Regions from separate parts of the Homo sapiens genome. Here region 1 is linked to region 2. The links are contacts of gene promoters, found by promoter capture Hi-C in blood cells and fetal thymus (Javierre and others, 2016). All regions are on one chromosome and are shown on one strand. The core of a region is centred on a gene start or on the middle of the fragment in contact, and the rest is flanking DNA. Distances in the headings are between cores, read along the strand shown.

Region 1 (3,404 bases), core at 25-2,524, 550 kb after region 2:
AGAGACAGGGTTTCACCAATTTGCCCAGGTTGGTCTTAAACTCCTGAGCTCAAGCGATCCACCTGCTTCAGCCTCCCAAAAATACTGAGATTACAGGCGTTTGCCACCCTGCCTGGACAAAAGCAGGATTTTAAAATTTAATTTAGAATCACAGATAGCTACTGTGTTGTTGGAAACCTAAGGTACTAAATAAAGGAGAACTCTGGTGAGTACTATTATGGTATTCCTTCATTCACGTAAGTGCTCGCCATGATAGGCATACCTGACACCTTTTACATACATCTCCACACAGGTTACAGAGATGCTGTAATTCAGGTATGCCCAACAACCTCTCCATCAAACATTTCCTATCCCCTAAGGTAGGTAAGAAAGCATTCATTCAATACCTAAACAGTACATTACATAATTTATCAATACTCATTTTGTTTAAGCAGGGCAAATGCTTTGCATAAAGTCCCAGTCTACCAGAGACCACTTAGAGAAGGGTCATCGAATTAGAACCCGTGGGGCAAATACAGCCTGCCATCTATTTATGTACAGCTCATGAACTAAGGATGGTTTTCACATTTTTAATGGCTGAGGAAAAACTGTAAAGAATGCTATTTAGTGACACATAAAAATTATATGAAATTCAAGTTTCAGGGCCCATAAATAAAGTCTTATAGAAACACAGGATTATTCATTTGTTATTGTCTAGGACTATTTTCTCACTATGACTGCGTGGCTCACAAGCCATTTTATTCAACAACAAAAAAGCTTGCCAACCCCTGACTTGGACCTCAATTTTAGAAAACACAGCAAATATACTAGATGACTTCTGTTTTTTTTTTTTTTTTGGCTTTTACAAAAAAGGTTTAACTGAAGAGTCTTTTAAAAAGGAAGCCTCTCTAGTTTTTTTTGTTTTTTTTTTGTTTTTTTAAATTACATATAACTTTTCAGGGATTTCTCATATATACAAACATTTAACAATTTTAAAACACAAGGTAAGGATTCCACTAGAGATAAACATGGCTCAACTTCCCACCAGCTTTCGTTTTCCTTTCTCTTGTATCCTCCTTCTCTTTATAATTCTCCTTTAAAAAATTTTTTCATTCCCTACATAGCTCATGACCCCAACAGGCAATATGTATTTCTTTTACTAAAAAGAAGTGGATAAAATATTGCTTAGATTTCGTCTAGGAAGCAGGAGAACAAAGTACCATGTTTTTTATTTCCTAATACCATATAAGTGGTAAAGGCAAAGTTTTAAAACAAAGCATCAGAAACTAAGAATAGAGGATATGGTTATTGTTCTTTTAACTTGTAATTTCTTCTAGGATACTTGTCACAATTTTTCTTTTACCCCAGGAAAATAAATAGCTATAAAAAACAAATGTTAGTTATCTCAAAAATGTTCTTTACTTTTATGCACTCCTCCTTCCTCCTTTTCCATTCTGTAACTTCAGTGTTCCCCAAACCAATCTAATTTATCTAAGTATGTCAATATGGAAGACACAAATATTTTTGCATTTTCAGCACCCTGTCACAACTAAATCCCAAAGGAAAGTCTACAAAAATCTTAAGGTGGAAACTTAAGGTTTTAAGAGAATCACAAAACCCCAAGAGAGTATGTAGGACTAAAGAGAGCCCACACCCTTTGGTATACAGGAAGTACAGGAATGAATGAGGAGCTCACTGGGCTCACCAATACTATTACACCTTTTATCTTCTGGATTAAATGTAAAATGAGACTTAAAGACAGGAAATGCTCAATTCATTAGAAATATCTAAAATCTTCGTTAGTAAGACAGAATCAAGCTTGGAAATCCCATTAAAGTTAACAATGGAGACAAATTAACAATACACACCAAAACTTCTTGAAAGCTGATATTATCTGCTTTAATTGTAGGAAAATTTTAAAAATATCGATAAGGCAGAGTAAGGATTTAATTATTTTTCAATCGGTAACACTTACCTTCTGTCTTTCCATTTTTCAACATATGTACTAGCCCAGAATTCTCCATTTCTACTATAGTCTTCATGTGCTTGGAAATGAGTTCCCTTTCAACCACCTTTACAATTGGTTCTTCCGTTGATTTGTCAAGGCAGTGCATCACTCGTTCTATTTCTTCATTAATTCTAGCTTCTACTTTCTTTATATATACTGAAGCACTATTTTCTGCTAAAAATTTCTGGCTTTCCATCTGCCATTTAAAAATATATATATTTTTTAAACATAGAAGAAAAGAGTGTTTTTGCTTTTAGCTGGGTTTCTACAGTGTTTATAATAAATCAGCCTAAATAAAATAAGTACTATTAGCATTTTGTGTAATTTCTCATTACACGAAAGACTGATATAGTCTGAATTATATCCTTTAAAGCCTTTGGTATTTACATAATACTAAATTAAAACATTATCTGTAAGCAATGTTTTTCAAACTGTGCCAATGTACTCCAAAAAATAGCAGAACAAGTATATACACGCCAGTGAGGGTCAAAAGCTTAGAAGCATCTGACTCCAAGATACAGTGGGACATTCTTTTTTGATTTGTTTTAATGTAAAATTATAACCAGAAAGATTCATCATGTTTATCATAAGCTTTGCTGGCATACTGCTGGTTAATTAAGTCTTCCAGTGCCATCCCACTCCCAGTCTCAAAGAGTAAACATGTACACTAAAGTTTGAAAATAAGAGCTTTTAAATAACTATTCATCTTTTTTTTCTTTTTTTTTTTGAGACAGAGTCTCGCTCTGTCACCCAGGCTAGAGTGCAGTGGCGCGATCTCAGCTCACTGCAAGCTCCACCTCCCGGGTCCACACCATTCTCCTGCCTCAGCCTCCCGAGTAGCTGGGACTACAGGCGCCCGCCACCACGCCCGGCTAATTTTTTTGTATTTTTAGTAGAAATGGGGTTTCACCGTGTTAGCCAGGATGGTCTCAATCTCCTGATATAGTGATCCACTCGTCTCAGCCTCCCAAAGTGCTGGGATTACAGGCGTGAGCCACTGTGCCCGGCCAACACTTTAGCTTCCTACGAATACATCTGTTTTGGCAACACTACAAAATTCCTACTGTTAACTGCTCAGGTAGTTACGGTTTTCAGGAAAAATGCCTTGTTACAGTTACCTTATAACTACTATCTTATGTTTACTAGTACTCAATTATTGTTGTTATCATCATTTCATTACAGATTAGTACCAGTTTAGCTTTACTTTTAGCAATTTAGTTGGTTTGGACCACTGTTGCCAATTTCTATCAATAGTACCATTGGCCTGTAATATTTTAATCAACAACCTTTAGGCAAATATGCACTACAGAATCATCCATATCCTTATGTGTGTTTTACTAGTAATTTAAGTGACTAAAAGCCTGCAGATGAGACTTCGTTGGTGATGTACTGCTGTGAATTTATAGTACTTAAATAA
Region 2 (3,574 bases), core at 678-3,177:
ACCATCATTGAAGGAATATATAAGCAATATCCCTGGCATCAAAACACAAAAGGTTGTGTTCCCCAAGGGTTAAAGTGAACCCTCAATCGCCTCACCTCCTCTTCCTAAGTGTGACTTTTCCCCACCCTTCCACCTGACCTTAACCCAATGAAAACTCGAAAGTTGTTGACATCTGTGAGCTTTGATCAAATTAGGGCTAACAGCAGGTTAAAGGAAAAATCAGGTTTTTGAGGGCTGAAAAACACATTGGCCTTTTTCTTCCTTAAAGTTTTCTGAGCCTGGATCCTGGAACCAAGTCCTCCTCCTATTATGTGTTTATTGAATAAATAGACAAATGTATGAGCAGATTTTAAAAAACTGGTTAATTCCTAAGTTCCATGAAGGGCATTAGTAGAAGAAATCTTTTGAGGACCTACATTTTTTTAATCTGCAAATGATGCTCTCGTTGTTGTATGACTGAGAAACTCTCAACACAGAGACACCTCATTTTAACTTAACATGATTGTGCTACAACTGGCTTAGATTATTTTTCCTAATAAATGAAATTCTACAGAAATGACAGTTCCCTGCATTTTCTCCTAATCCATTTATTGGATTGATGTTCCATGAATTTTCAATACTTTACATACATTGAAACAAGAAGGTCAATCGTAACCTCCTTTCACCCCTTCTTGGAGAATTTCCTTCAACCAGAAATCCATCAGTTTGTTTTTTGGTGTGTGCTCAGCCCCTCTTTTGCTCTCTCCCTCCCCAAAGGGAACCCTTTTATAAGCTGAGATGAACCATTTAGATTCTCCCTTTTGAAATGGTCAAGCTGAGAAACCCAAATTGAGTTCTATGATCCTGGCACTGAAGATTCTCGGGCTAAGTCATAACATGCTTTGTGGTCTGTGTTTCAGAGAGATGAATGTAGGTGAGCTGTGTCTGGGGAAGGGAGGAAGGTACCAGGCCAATTACACTAACCACGGAAAGAGGTGAGGAGAGCCACCAGGTACCTGCAGTGGAAATAAATGGAAAAAGCACTTGGTGGAAACTGCACCGAAGAGGGGGTTTGTCGAAACAAAAACAATCAAAGACATAGGAGTTCAATCTGGGTGACTGCTGGGGACACAGATGCCTTTAACAAAGAGATCACAGAAAGCATTGCCCCTTTGAGGGTCTAGATGTTCAGCAGGCAACTCAAAACTGGGAATTCAAACAAGCCTCCCTTTGTGACTTAATATGTTCTTTTAAAAATTGTACTGTATTAACAGTTTGGTAGGAAAGCAATAGAATTACATTGTTAAAGAGTGTTAACATAAAGAAGGAAGAAACTGTAATTCCCCTATTACCGTTTTATGTTTTTTTCCAGTCATTTTCCGGATGTTTAAAAATATGTACTATTAGATTGCTTTTAAAGAAAAATTTTAATTTTGGATAAGCCAACATTTCTGAGTCTAGGGTTTCCAAAACTAAGGCTTTTGGAGGCGTGCTGGGTCAAAAATAGAAGCTCGGTAAATACTTGCTCAGTAGTGGCCTAGAACACTAAATATAAATTAAAAATGTTTTCTTTTTTTGAGGATTTAAATGTTTCCTTAACCTGAAAGCGAAACAGATTTTTGTTTGTTTTGCTGTAACGAGAGAGGAAGGAACAAGAGAGTGACAGGGTGAAGCAACTTCTCCCAGAAACTTTTGGGCGCAAACGCCCTCAAGTCCGGATCATTGGAAAGTAACTCGAAGAGAGGAGAGAACTAGCGCAAGCGTAGCCTCAAGGCGGCCGCAATCACCCCGCCCCGGGGCTGTCTCCGCCCCTGCCCTCTCTCAGTCGCCCCGCCCCGGGGGCTGTCTCCGCCCCAGCCTTCTCTTCGCGTTCCGCGTTCCGGGTTCCGGGGGAAGTGTGTTACGGGGACACTGGCCCGACTACTTTCGTTCCGTCTTCCATCGTTTTCTCTCGTGCAATGGCGTCCGGGCTGGTAAGATTGCTGCAGCAGGGACATCGCTGCCTCCTGGCTCCAGTCGCCCCCAAGCTGGTCCCTCCGGTTCGGGGAGTGAAGAAGGGATTCCGCGCCGCCTTCCGCTTCCAGAAGGAGTTAGAGCGGCAGCGCCTTCTGCGGTGCCCGCCGCCGCCCGTGCGCCGGTAGGAGCCACCTCGGGAAGAGGTCTCAGGGTGGCGGTCGCAGACACTGGGTCTTCTTCCCGCGGCGTCGTGTCTGCGGCTGATGCGCCCCTGGGTTAAGCCTTAGGAAGTTTGCGATGGAGACACCCGTGAGCTGTGGGCGCGGGGCCTGAGGCAAAAAAAATGGATTTGTGCCGCGGGCGGTAGAGCTTCGGGCTGTTCCCGACGTTTTGAAACTACCATTTAGGATTTTGGCTACTGAAAATTGGGAGAAATGGGGCTAACTGGAGGGTCTTCCTTATGTGGACTTGGATGTTGTAGTCCCCGTTTGTAATGCCTGAGAATTCCGATAAGCGGGAAGAAAGCAGCCCACAGCATCGTAAATTAAGGAGAAAAAAAATTAATCTACAACCTGAATTCTGCTGTCTAGAGTAAAAGGAAAAAAAGTTAGCTTTAGATTTTTGCCCTAATTAATGCTGTTCTGGTAACAGGTTTGGCAGAGAGAGACACAGGTTTTTATAGCTTCAAACCAGATCATACTTTACATAATTTAAATTCCTTCATCTTGCTTTTTCTCTTTAATAATGTGTGTTTGACATGTTGTCATGGTATTACAAAGATATGTACCTCACTCTTTTTTATGGCTCTGTATATATGGGCCTATGAGCTCCATATTATTGCCATTAAAACCTATGTAACAGCGCGTAAAGGGGACGCATGTGTAGTATGAAATTTTGAAAGCTATTAGTACTTTAACATTGCCCTCCAAAAAATGTTGATCCACTTTGTACTCCTACCAGTAGGAACGGTCTTCTAACAGAGAAGATTATAGCAAAAAATAAAATCTCTTCTTAATTCCCATTCCCTTGTTTATTATAAGATTAAGTATTTTAGGCTCTCAAAGGTGGAAGAAACTTTATGGGTTGGACAGATTATATAGGTGTATATGTTATATGTATATCTTACGACTTTCAACCTAGGTTTTCATACTTTGCTTCCCTTTGTTTCTTAAAGGGGTTTTATATTGTGTTACGTATAAGTAATCCAGAGATGACTTAAAGTATACAGGAGGATGTGCATAGGTTATATGCAGATACAGGTATACCTCATACATATTGTAGGGTTGGTTCTAGACCACGACAATAAAACGAGTCACATGACTTTTTTAGTTTCCCAGTGTATACCTAAGTTATGTTTATACTATTCTGTAGTTTATTAAGTGTACAGTAGTAGTGTCTAAAAAGCAATATATGTACCTTAATTTAAAATACTTTATTGCTAAAAAATGGTAACACAGAGACACAAAGTGAGCACATGCAGAATTGCTACAGACCTTCAGTTTGTAAAAATAAAATGCAATAAATCTGTGAAGCACAATAGACCGAAGTACAGTGAAACGAAGTGTGCCTGTACTACACCATTTATATGAGAGACTTGAGCATCCATGAATTTCAGTATCCAGGAGAGTCCTTGGAACCA

The links. Contacts are between HindIII fragments. The CHiCAGO score rates a contact against its expected background, and 5 or more counts as called.
Region 1: a contact is called between a fragment that was not itself captured here and the fragment with the promoter of MRPL44 in region 2, in 1 of 17 cell types (erythroblasts). The highest score is 5.7, in erythroblasts.

The regions. Positions count from the first base shown.
Region 1 is chr2:224,509,400-224,512,803 of GRCh38, forward strand. CUL3 (cullin 3) reads right to left here. Exons shown (of 16, transcript NM_003590.5): 6 at 1,955-2,183. Among named protein-coding and RNA genes, the nearest start is that of CUL3, 74 kb to the right of the region's middle. The HindIII fragment of the contact is 1,041 bases long and covers 755-1,795 here.
Region 2 is chr2:223,955,536-223,959,109 of GRCh38, forward strand. It overlaps MRPL44 (mitochondrial ribosomal protein L44), which reads left to right and starts at 1,928. Exons shown (of 4, transcript NM_022915.5): 1 at 1,928-2,116. The coding sequence starts at 1,938. RefSeq lists a silencer at 1,703-1,772 and an enhancer at 1,843-2,012. The HindIII fragment of the contact is 10,687 bases long and covers 1-3,574 here.